Regions from separate parts of the Homo sapiens genome. Here region 2 is linked to region 1. Evidence: promoter capture Hi-C in 16 types of primary human blood cells and fetal thymus (Javierre and others, 2016). All regions are on one chromosome and are shown on one strand. The core of a region is centred on a gene start or on the middle of the fragment in contact, and the rest is flanking DNA. Distances in the headings are between cores, read along the strand shown. Region 1 holds the start of STK26 (serine/threonine kinase 26). Region 2 overlaps STAG2 (STAG2 cohesin complex component).

Region 1 (5,888 bases), core at 1,103-3,602:
AAAAAAGATTCCTCTCTTCTTTGCTAACGTTGAGATGTTTGCCCTACTCAAATTAGGTGGGACAAAGTAATCACAACTCAGAGGGCACAGAGTGAAAGGCAGAATTTGTAATTTAAAGTATATGATTCACATTCGAATCCACATTAATTAAGATTTAAAAATTCAAGAGATAGGCAACTCAGATAATTAAAAGCAGGGAGCAATCAGAAATACTGAACAGCAAGCAGTTCCTAAACCATATAAATTCAATAAGTTCAAGACAAATAAAATAAAAATCAGAAACCATTTTCCCCTCAGCACACAGAGTTCCCCAGAATCACAAACTTGATGAACTGGAGGCACTCACTCTGCTGACGCACACACGCAGGCTCGCGCACACAATGGAGCGAGAAGCATGGAGACCCTCAGAGACAAACTTCACATGTGCATCGTTTTACTCTCCACAGAATGGAAAGAAGAGCACGGTGAGAAAATGTCACTTTTTCCCAGATCAAACAGCAAAACTGTACTTAGTATTGTGAACTATGAATTCCCTTGATACAATCAAAGGCAGAACTGAATGAATGGGGTGTGGGGCAGGGTGCGTGGGGAAAAGAAGGAGGGAAGGAGAGGGGAGGCCGCCTGAGAGGAAGAAAGTTTAAGGCATTTTGCAAGGCTTGAGTGGATTAATCTTTTTTTTTAAGCCCTACTATTTCCTATTTCCCTTTCTCTCTCTCTCTTTATTTAATATACACTAACTTCCTGAGACTCAACCCAGACTTGCCCTAAATGCAGCTGAAATGTCTGGTGTTTAGGACACACCAAGAGTTCTAGGTGCACAAATAAATCCCATTTTGGGAAAGAATTTAAAAATCACTTTTGTGGACATTCATAAAATGAGAACACTGAAAAAAAAAAAAAAACTCCATGTATCAATAAGTAAATTGAGGCCCCAGTCTACAGCTCTTTGATTTCTACTAGAAATATAAGCTATTTACTATAAACATTTTATTTTTGAACTTCAAAAAAGTTTGTTTTCACATTTTAGATCATGAAAGACTGAGGCTTCAGTGGTTTTAGCCCCTAAATGGGTTGTTTAGGCCATCTAGCAAAGGAAAAAAAAATAGAACATGAATGCTTTAAAAAGTTAGTAAATTTGGATAACACTTAGCAGATAGCCTAAAATGCACCGATTTAAAAACATAACAGCATAAAAAGTTTTCTGACATAGCTTATCTTTAATAAAATGAAAATATAATGGGAGGGGGTTGGGCTGGGTAGACTTCGAGTAACAAGTTGGGTCCCATGCAGTAGTCCCTTGTCCAAGACAAAAAGCTTCCTTTAACCACATGTAACAGTCATCTTGTGGGAAAGGCACGGAGGGGGCTGAGAAGTCATCACCTCAGTGACTCTGAACAGAACCAGCATTTCTCACGCCACACTATGGGCTGGGCTAGGTCGGGGAGCAAGCTACAACTTTGCCCTTAAGCAGCAGTACCGAAAGGGAGAAAGAGGTCACCTCTCTCTTAGCCCTACGCACACAGGAAGAGCCCAATTCAAGCCGCCGCCGCCGCCACCCCTGGTGTTGCCCCGCCCCAACTTGAGTGTGTGTTTGGGGTGGGGGGTGTAGGGCACTCACTACTCGCGTTATACCCCACAAATTCCAAGGCACTTCCATCTCTCCCAGGTTAAGTTCCGCCCCCCCATCCCCAACCGTGCCAAGCTCAGCAGGCGCAGGTGTCTGTGGCTCTGGCCTATTTTTATACCCCCAACCGCCCTCAATCTCCACCTAGTTGCGCGCTCCAGTCCCGCCTCGCCTTCCCAGCGAAGAGCACTACCTAGCCTACACACCAGGAAACACCTCCAGCCCTACTCCCAGGTCACCTGGCCATAGTGACCGGCCCTGCCCTCAGGGGAGCCCTGGGGCCGTCCCTTGTCGCCGGTGCCCAGCACCGAGGGCGCACCGGGCTCCCAAGCAGTCACGTGGGCGGCGGGGGCGGCCTGCGCTTCCTCACCTGCATCCCAGGCACTTGGACAGCCACCGGCGAGTGGGCCATGGAGGCGAATGCTGCCTCGCTCCGCTTCTGCGGCGGTGGCGCCTTGGGTTCGGACTGGCTCCTCCCTCCGGGGGTAGTTCGGCGGCCCTCCCAGGCTTTTCGATCGGGGCCTGGGAGGACACACAAAAGTGGGGTTACTGGGCTGGCGGCGCGTAGCCCGGGGCTAGGAGGTGGGCTGTTAGCGGCGCAGCTCCCTGGGACTCAGTCTACCTTTCTGGCGCCCGCCCGCCGCTGAAGCAGCCGCCTCCGCTGCTGCTCCTCTTCCTGAACGCCGAGCGCTGTGAGTGGTGGTGGCTGGGACCTGGGCTCGAGTGATGCCGCTCCTCTGCGCCTCGCCGCTTTAGGAAGAGGAGGTGGAGGCGCCCCAGCCACCCGCCTGCTCGCCTGGCCTGGGAGGCGGTTGGGGGCGGTTCCGCCGTTGGCCCTGCCCCCGCCCCGCAGCCGGGCGGTGTCGCGGGAGCCAAGGCTCCAGGCAGCGAAGAGGTTTGGCTGGGGTTGCTGGAGTCTGAGAAGCTGGAGACTCTCCCGGCACGCGGAGAGGAGAACCCGGGGACCCGGAGACCTGGGACATGGCTGGGCCTGGGAAGAGAATGGAAGAGTTTGGGAAACCCTGAGGGTATGAGGGCGCCCCAGATGCGGCCACGTTGCAGGGAGGCGTGCGAGGCTGGGGCACACGCAGCCTCGGAGACGACTTGAGCTGAAACTTGGGGAGTGTTGGAAGTCTTTCTTGGCTCCCCGGCCTGGCCAAGGGTAGGATTACAGATAGCCGCGGAGTCGGTGGACCCCCGCTTTTTCCCGCCATCTGGTCTCCTCAGCTGGGGGTCGCGCCTCTGGGCAGATCTGTGGCCACACTCTTGCTTTCCGAGTTCCCTGACCCCAAACATGCTTCAGGTGACTTCAACTTAAGGTTCCCCCTACCTCCTGGGCTATCCCTTGCAGAACGGCCAAACTAGGGCTTCTCTCTACCACAAGTTCTGCACGTGTAAGGCAGAGGGAAATTGGAAAACAGATGGTACATCGGCAGAAAAATTAATGAGGATAGTAGAGGCTTGGGAAATGAGATTGGATCGTTAGCAGTACAGGTTATTGAAATCAGCATACACTGCAGTGGTTTTGGTAACTCCCTGCCTCCGCCCCATTTTAAGTTCTACTCCAGGAGAGGGAGACAGGCTCTTTTGAGAGTACTCTAACAGTAGCGACAGTAACACTGGTAATAATAGTAACAGGAATTTCATTATGAAGGCACCTTTGGGAACACGTAAGGGGTTAATTACTTTTTAAAAAAGTAATAGTCGAGTGCCAGTTTAAAATGAAGATGAAGTTCCTTACCTTGAAATTTGTTATGGGTCTCTACGCACCACACGGTGGGGGGCCTCTAGTGGTAAAAGATAGTTTCTCTTCTTCCTTTTAAATCTTTTTCAGAGAATAGTATATAATTCTTATCAATATCGTTATTATTAATGGATATTATTTTCATTGTGCCAGGGACTGCTAAGTGCTTTCTATGTGTTATTAATACCTTACTGAACCTGTACAAGGGCCTTCTGGAGTCTTATTGATTTCCCCTCATTTTACAGATGAAGAAAAAGGCTCAACCAGGTTAAATAATTTGACCGAAATGTCACGCAATTAAGAAGTGGTACAGCTGGGAATTCAGACGCAGGTCCCTCTGACTGGTGATAAACTTACTACTTTCTCTATGGTTTCTGTTTGTGTTTAATGATGATAAAAGGTACAATTGCATTTTCCTTACTCCTAGTTCCCCAAGTCCAGCCCTTCACTATTTCTAACCTAATGTTAGGCTCCAATCTAGTCTCGATTTCCCACCAACCCAGCTCACAACATTGCCAGCCTGACCGGAAACCTGCAGTGCCACCTAAACTTTTAATGTCCATAGAAATCCGAGGGTTCTTTTGCTCCCTCAAAAGCGCAGATTTTTATCTCCCATGTCTGGACTGGGCCCAAGATTCTGCAATGCTAACAAGCTCTCACATGGTGATGATGTTTAGATCACACTTTTAAGTCGCAAGGGTCTGAATCAAGCTCCATCATTTAAGACCTGTCTCAAATCTCACCTCCATTGACCCTTCCTAGTTGCTCCAAGCCCTCCTTCAAACTCCTCCAATGTGAGCAGCGCTCACACTGTAGTTCTTTCTTCTTATTTCATATATTTCATTTGTTTTGTGTGCCCATATTAGGTCCTTGAGGGCAGAGATCCAGCCTCTCTTACATGAGAATGATTCAGGTAGGATGGCAGGAGTCTGAGGGCAAGCTTTTTATACATTTTGTCCATTGCTGTATCCCCAGAGACTAGGTTCATGGCATGTAGTAGGCCCTCAATAAATAATTGTTGAATGAATGAATGAACTTCTTTTGAATTCTCCACTGAGGTTACTAGGTGCATAATGTATACACTATATATTTTATTGATGTCAGGTTAAACCCCTAGGCATTGCCCTTACTGAACATTTAAATTGTTCAGTTTATTGTGTGTTACATCTTTCATTATTTAGTCTCCAAAATTCTTTCCTGCTAGTTTAATTTCACAACTACTTATGAGCCAGTTGTATAATTTTGATAGATAAGTAAATTAAGCATATCAGAGAAATGACTTTCTCTGACATCATTCTGGGCCAGAGTTATGTAACTATGTGGAAGAATAAAAGCTTAATGCTGAGACCTGGAATATTGAGACATTTCCTGAAAGACATTGCATTTGAGATCTTAGTGAGCTTTTTAGCCTTTATTTAGGTTTACTGCTATTAAATAAAGCATCAGTTGTTGTTATAATTGATAGAGATCACTTGAGTTTTTACATGGGATTGCTTGTGGGCTTTTAAATGATTTTTCCTGTGTGTGTGTGTGTGTGTGTCTGTGTCTGTGTGTGTGTGTGTATCTATAAATTAAATCTTGTGAAGGTGTCAACATTTGAAAACAATTCAAATTTTATGAGCATTAGAAACTTTTTTTCCACTTTGAACTGGATTATTTCTCAAATTCTTAAATAAAATGACAAGAAATTCAAGTACGCTTTTGTTACACACACACACAAAGGAAACTTAAATATTTTACTTCAAATTGTCAGCCCAGGCCAGGCGTGGTGCCTCACCCCTGTTCCCAGCACTTTGGGAGGCCGAGGCGGGCAGGTTACCTGAGGTCAGGAGTTTGAGACCAGCCTGGCCAACATGGCGAAACCCCATCTCTACTAAAAATACAAAAATTAGCTGGACATGGTGGTGTGTGCCTGTAATCCCAGCTACTCTGGAAGCTGAGGCAGGAGAATTGCTTGAACCTGGGAGGCAGAAGTTGCAGTGAGCTGAGATCATGCCACTGTACTCCGCCCTGGGCCACAGAGCGAGACTCCATCTCCAAAAAAAAAAAAAAAAAAAAGTCAGCCCAGAGTCTGAAAATATATTACAGTGTATTCCCGTAGTTTAATGGAAAACGTTTCTTGAGGAGAGACACAACTTATGCTTTTTGGTCACACGTAGAGTGTAACATAGCACCTCAGAAAGGATTTGGTACCTGCTTGATTGATGTGATCTGAATGGCTGTGAATACTTAATAACCATATAAATAAAATAAGATTATACACAGATTAGGTAAGGTTTTGAGTAACATTATACACAGATTAGGTAAGGTTAGTGAATTTCAAGTTAGACAGTGTTCTTGAGGCCTCAAAACTTAATAATTTACATTTGGCACCTGGTTTCAATTTCCTGACATTTGTCATACCCTCTATTCAGGTTGAGTATCCCTTATCCAAAATGCTTAGGACAAGAAGTGCTTCAGATTTTGGATGTTTTTGGAGTTTGGAATAATTGCATATACGTAATATCTTGGGTATGGGAC
Region 2 (5,888 bases), core at 1,511-4,010, 8.1 Mb after region 1:
AGCATAAATGACCTAAAAGAAAAAATATCTATGAAACCATTTCATGTATCACATGATTCCCCCCCCAAAAAATTCAAGAATACAATTCATTATCCCACAAACTTTAATAAGCATATGCAAACAAAACCAATGCTCAGATTTATTTCAACTACTTCTATTACTATTAAAAGACAATATAGACCTCAGGCAGCAACTTATCTGACTCTGGGTAAAAATCTATATTTACCTTGCACTATACATGAAAAAGAATCTTGATTTTGTAAAATTAAAATAAGAATGCATGCTCTCTGATGACAGATAGCCCAAGACCTAAACCAGATAAGGGAAACAACTGAGTTTAACAAAAAAGCACAAAGGTTTTGAGGCCAGGCTAATCTGAGTGTGAATCCATGTGACTTGAGACAAGGCATTTACTCTCTGAGAGCGTCAATTTCCCCACGTGTAAAATGATGAGGACAACCTATCCTGCAAAGTGGTTGAGAAGATTAAACAGAAGATTAAAGCATTACTGGCATTCAGTAGGAACTTAAATAGCAGTTAAATTAAGTTTCTTAGAATGCTTCAGGTTTCAAAAGTTATTCTTGCAAAAATGTAAATAGGACTTGTTTTTCACCCCCCTTGAACGATGTACAACAGAATTTAAACAACTTTTTGAGATAGGGTCTTACTCTTTTGCCCAGGCTGAAGTGCAAAGGCATGATCATGGCTCACTGCAGGCTCAACCTGCTGGGGCTCAAGTGATCCTCCCACCTCAGCCTCCCCAGTAACTGGGGCCACAGGCTGCACAACCATACCCAGCTAATTGTTAAATTTTTTTGTAGAGATGGGGTCTCCCTACGTTGCCCAGGATGGTCTCAAACTCCTGGGCTCAACAGATCTTCCCACCTTGGCCTACCAAAGTGCTGGGATTCAGAGGGTGAGTCACCACGCCCAGCCAACTTATTTCTTACAAAGAAATTTTACCTTTGAATGGTCCCTTAAGTTAGGCAGAGCTTACTGAAATCTCCCTAGTTTGTCTCATCAAGCCTAGTAATGTATTTCCCAATTAAAATACAGTCATGTGCCATATAATGACATTTTAGTCCACAACAGACTGCATATAAGACGGTGGTCCCAGCTGGGTGTAGTGGCTCATGCCTGTAATCCCAGCACTTGGGGAGGCTGAGGCAGGCGGATCACGAGGTCAGGCGTTTGAGACCAGCCTGACCAATATGGTGAAAGCCCGTCTCTACCAAAAATACAAAGATTAGCCGGGTATGGTGGCATGCATCTGTAATCCCAGCTACTTGAGAGGCTAAGGCAGGAGAATCGCTTGAACTCAGGAGGCAGAGGTTGCAGTGAGCCAAGATCTCGCCACTGCACCCCAGCCTGAGCGACAGAGGGAGACTCCATCTAAAAAAAAAAAAAAGACAGTGGTCCCATAAGATTATAAGGGAGCTGCCCTATAGAGGTGTACTATTTTTTCTTTTATACCGTATTTTTATTGTATCTTTTTTGTTTTCAAACACAAATACTTACCACTGTATTATAACTGCCTACGATATTCAGTACAGCAACATGCTGTACAGGATTGTAGCCTAGGAGCAACAGGTCATACCATATGGCATAGATGTATAGTAGGCTATTCCATCTAGGTGTGTGTAGGTACACTGTATGATGCTCACACAACAAAATCACCTAAAGATGCATTTCTCAGAAGGTATGCCCGCCGTTAAGCAATGCATGACTGTAATAAAAAAGAATAGGCCAGCTGGGCGCAGTGGCTCACGCCTGTAATCCCAGAACTTTGGAAGGCCGAGGCAGGCAGATCACCTGAGGTCGGGAGTTCGAGACCAGCCTGACCAACATGGAAAAAACCCCGTCTCTACTAAAAGTACAAAATTAGCCCGGTGTGGTGGCACATGCCTGTAATCCCAGCTACTCGGGAGGCCGAGGCAGGAGAATCGCTTGAACCCAGTAGGTGGAGGTTGCAGTGAGCCAAGATCGCACCATTGCACTCTAGCCTGGGCAACAAGAGCAAAACTCCGTCTCAAAAAAAAAAAAAAAAAAAAAAAAAATACACCATTGACATTATTCATCCTCTCTTTCTTCGGCAGAAGGAATGGAAAACAATTTCAATAATCTCTTCTTGGCCAGGCACGGTGGCTCCGCCTGTAATCCCAGCACTTTGGGAGGCTGTGGTGGGTGGATCACCTGAGGTCAGGAGTTTGAGACCACCCTGACCAACATGGTGAAACTCTGTCTCTACTAAAAACACAAAAAATTAGCTGGGCGTGGTAGCGGACACCTGTAATCCCAGCTACTGGGAGGTTGAGGCAGGAGAATCACTTGAACCCGGGAGGCAAAGGTTGCAGGGAGCCCAAGATCATGCCACTGCACTCCAGCCTGGGCAACAAGAGCAAAACTCCGTCTCAAAAAATAAATAAATCTCTTCTTGACTTACTACAATAACCATATGTAAAGACTTCTTGGTGTCTACTGGTGAGTATCAAAGATCTATAGCAAGCACACATTAAAAACACAATTCAGGTAGCAGATTACCACAGCTGCTGAAGATGCATAGATTTTTAAAAGGCACATCAACAAAAATTAGACTCCACTAAGCAACACCACTTACACTGAAGAAATATAAAATTTGGGTAAATTAAACGTAAAGCAGTCAACTCAAGAGACTGAAAAATCAAACTGATAATTTTGCTTTATCATATATCTTTGCCAATCAGAACACGCAATAACCATCATTTATGATACCCAGAAACATAAAGAATTATTACACAGGGACAGTACTGAAACACGAACTAAAGTCCTGAACATGTAGCCAATGCAGAAAAATGTTAAGAACTTTTTTTTTTTTTAAACGGAGTCTCGCTGTCGCCCAGGCTACAGTGCAGTGGCGCGATCTCAGCTCACTGCAACCTCTGCCTCCCAGGTTCAAGCGATTCTCCTGCCTCAGCCTCCCAAGCAGCTGGGACTACAGACGCGCACCACCACGTCCAGCTAATTTTAGTATTTTTAGTAGAGATGGGGGTTTCACCATGTTGGCCAGGCTGGTCTTGAACTCCTGACCTCATGATCCGCCTGCCTCAGCCTTCCAAAGTGCTAGGATTACAGGCGTGAGCCATGGTGCCCAGCCAAAAACTTTTAAAATAGCCTATGTCTTTAAAGTTCCTTCCTTACTCTCCAACAATCACACTTCAGTATATACTGATGCCCATACCTGAAACTATCCCTCTCCCTCGCTATTCTCCCCAACTCCCAAAACGGTACTCCATTATATAGTAAACTGTACATTTTAGTTTATTTTTAATTTTTTTTTGAGACAGGGTCTTGCTCTGTTGCCCAGGCTGGGTGCAGTGGCGCAATCGTGGCTTACTGCAGCCTCTATGTACCGGGCTCAGGTGATCCTCCTGCCTCAGCCTCCCAAATAGCTGGGACCACAGGTGTGCACCACCACACCTAATTTTTAAATTATCTATAAACATGGGGTCTCCCTATGTTGCCCAGGCTGGTCTTGAACTCCTTGGGCTCAAGTGATCCCCCCACTTCAGCCTCTCAGCCTCCCAAAGTGTTGGTATTACAGGTGTGAGCCACTGTGCCCCGCCGATTTTGGTTTAAGTTCAAAAGTCAACTTGCAGCATCAAAAACTGAAGTCTGCCATCTATTATAAAGAACCCGAAGCAGAAAGATTATGCTATTCTCTGTTTACTACCTTCCCACATATGACTGTGGGTGGTATCAGTTAAACATGCACAATATTAAGCATTACTAAACTGCATATTTTCACATCTAACCCTAAATTCCCAAAGGAATAGATCTGAGCCTTAGCCTGTCCCCCAAGCCCATCCCATTCACTTTAATTCATAAGTCCTCAGGTGACCGCAGAAGTCAATACAGTTGAAAAAGAAATGTAGAATTTGATTTCATGAAAATCTTATTTGAGCATTTGGGCTTTAAAAAATCCTAACTAAATATACTTGAAAGTTACCAAACTCATCATGTGTTAGTGTAGTAGTTTAGCTATTGCCTCACCACAATAAAATAAATCTGATGCCACAATCCTTACCATCTACTAAGAATATTTGTATATGAATAAAAATTTGAAATATGTCACCTATTTTCCTTTAACATCCTTCTAAAGCTAAAATCCTGAATATGAAATACACAAACAGACTAATGGTAACAGTTACAAAATGTCTGTTCCCAGATTGGGGTGAAATTTTGCTATAAATTAAATATCCATTGTTTTGGATTCCTTTCGGAACTGTGACATGTATTTTTAAAATGTATCTCCTGGGGGAAAAAAATAAACCTGACACTGAACAGTATAGAACTGCCAAAAAAAAAAAAAAAAAAGGCACTTACCTTAATAGAATTTAGGAGCAGTTCACAAATGCACTAATTAAGGGAGACCAAGGATTGTCATTGCAACACATTTTTACTGTTTACGGGTAATGGTCAGAATGTTAACAGACAATATTGAAATATTTTACATATCAACTTCTAACTAGTTATAGCACCAGATCCTTGGGGCATGAGGTGATTTAAACCATTTTAAATGTAAACACTCATTTTCTTATCAGTTAAAAAAAAAAAAACCCACTCCACCCTCTCTGCCAGTCTCTGATACACCTTAGAATACTATAGTTACTTCACAGTGGGAAGGAATAGCTAATAAGTACATTTCTTTTCCAACCCACTTCTCTACCTAGTCATTAAACACCAAATTCTGAAACTGAATTCAGCTACCTAGATCTTTCTACCAGGAATGCTCCCTATGGTACCTCAATCCCTTCCACTGTCACTTACTGCAACTGCCAAAGCCCCTCCTATTAATAGTAAATCCCTTTCATACTGACTCACTGTAACTCCAACTTGATGAAATAGACACTAAGCAGAATTTACAAAAATTGCAAATGGAATTTTCCTGTTTTCAAAGAATTAAAAAGGAAACTAAAAGTAGAGCACATTCAGGCTAAGTTATAAACATTTAAAGTTCAACCAATTTATAAGTATTTATGTTGCCTGTTTTATACTAGTTCCCGTTTAAACGTTTTTTTTTTTTTGAAAGTTTTGCCAAGCATTGTGTAATCACTTACACAAGGCTAAATTTCCTATGCAAGTAATTTTGACATGTAAATATAAACTTAAGTCATTACCCCCAAGACTGTAAGACAATCTGGAAATTCTACTGCAAAAAAAGTTTATCTTAAACTATGGAAATGTTTAACAGCACGCACAAAAGTAGAGAGAATAATAGTAACAATGAGCGCTTCTGTATTCATCCAGCTACAATAATCAACTCAAGGCCACTTCTGCTTCACACCTACCTCCTACCCACTCCCTCCTCTCATTATTATCTTCAAAAAGAATTAAGAGGAAGATACTATGTTCTCTAAGTACACTTCTACCCAAAGATAGCAAAAGTATCAAAAACTAGCATGTTAAGTCAAAATCCAACAATGTAACTATACAGCCGCCTTACGCCTTACACAATTCTTTGGTAGGTGATAAATTTAAGAATTCAGTTAAACACAAAGATATAACCATCTTTAAGAATTTTAATGAAGTCCATAAACCCAAAGGGCATATTTAAAATTATACCTAAAAAGACAAATAGGGAAATGTGATGAAAACGAACTTAAACATCTGCAATTAACTTACTTAACGTGGCACCTTAGTTCAAAATGAAAAAAAAAAATCGACTATTTAACATAATGTGTCATAAAACTGCAATTCAACCACTTGAAAAACTGCTGAACACTTATATACCTTAAACTGGTCCTTCTGATCCCTAATTATAGATTGATATCAATGTAGAAAGAAAACCAGGCATTTTAACGTTAAGTGGTTGAAAATGTTGAAAATTAACCCCACTGTTCATCGGAAAG

Evidence for each region. The method cuts DNA at HindIII sites, captures the fragments that hold promoters and counts their contacts. A CHiCAGO score of 5 or more calls a contact.
Region 2: a contact is called between a fragment that was not itself captured here and the fragment with the promoter of STK26 in region 1, in 1 of 17 cell types (total CD8 T cells). The highest score is 5.5, in total CD8 T cells.

Annotation. Positions count from the first base shown.
Region 1 is chrX:132,019,766-132,025,653 of GRCh38, reverse strand. STK26 (serine/threonine kinase 26) reads right to left here and starts at 2,352. Exons shown (of 12, transcript NM_016542.4): 1 at 2,247-2,352; 2 at 1,995-2,146. The coding sequence starts at 2,036. RefSeq lists enhancers at 1,671-1,740, 1,710-2,257, 2,111-2,270, 2,721-2,770, 2,258-2,804 and a silencer at 2,311-2,560. The HindIII fragment of the contact is 2,994 bases long and covers 1,317-4,310 here.
Region 2 is chrX:123,963,426-123,969,313 of GRCh38, reverse strand. All of the region lies in intron 1 of STAG2 (STAG2 cohesin complex component), which reads right to left. Among named protein-coding and RNA genes, the nearest start is that of STAG2, 4.7 kb to the right of the region's middle. The HindIII fragment of the contact is 7,160 bases long and covers 1-5,888 here.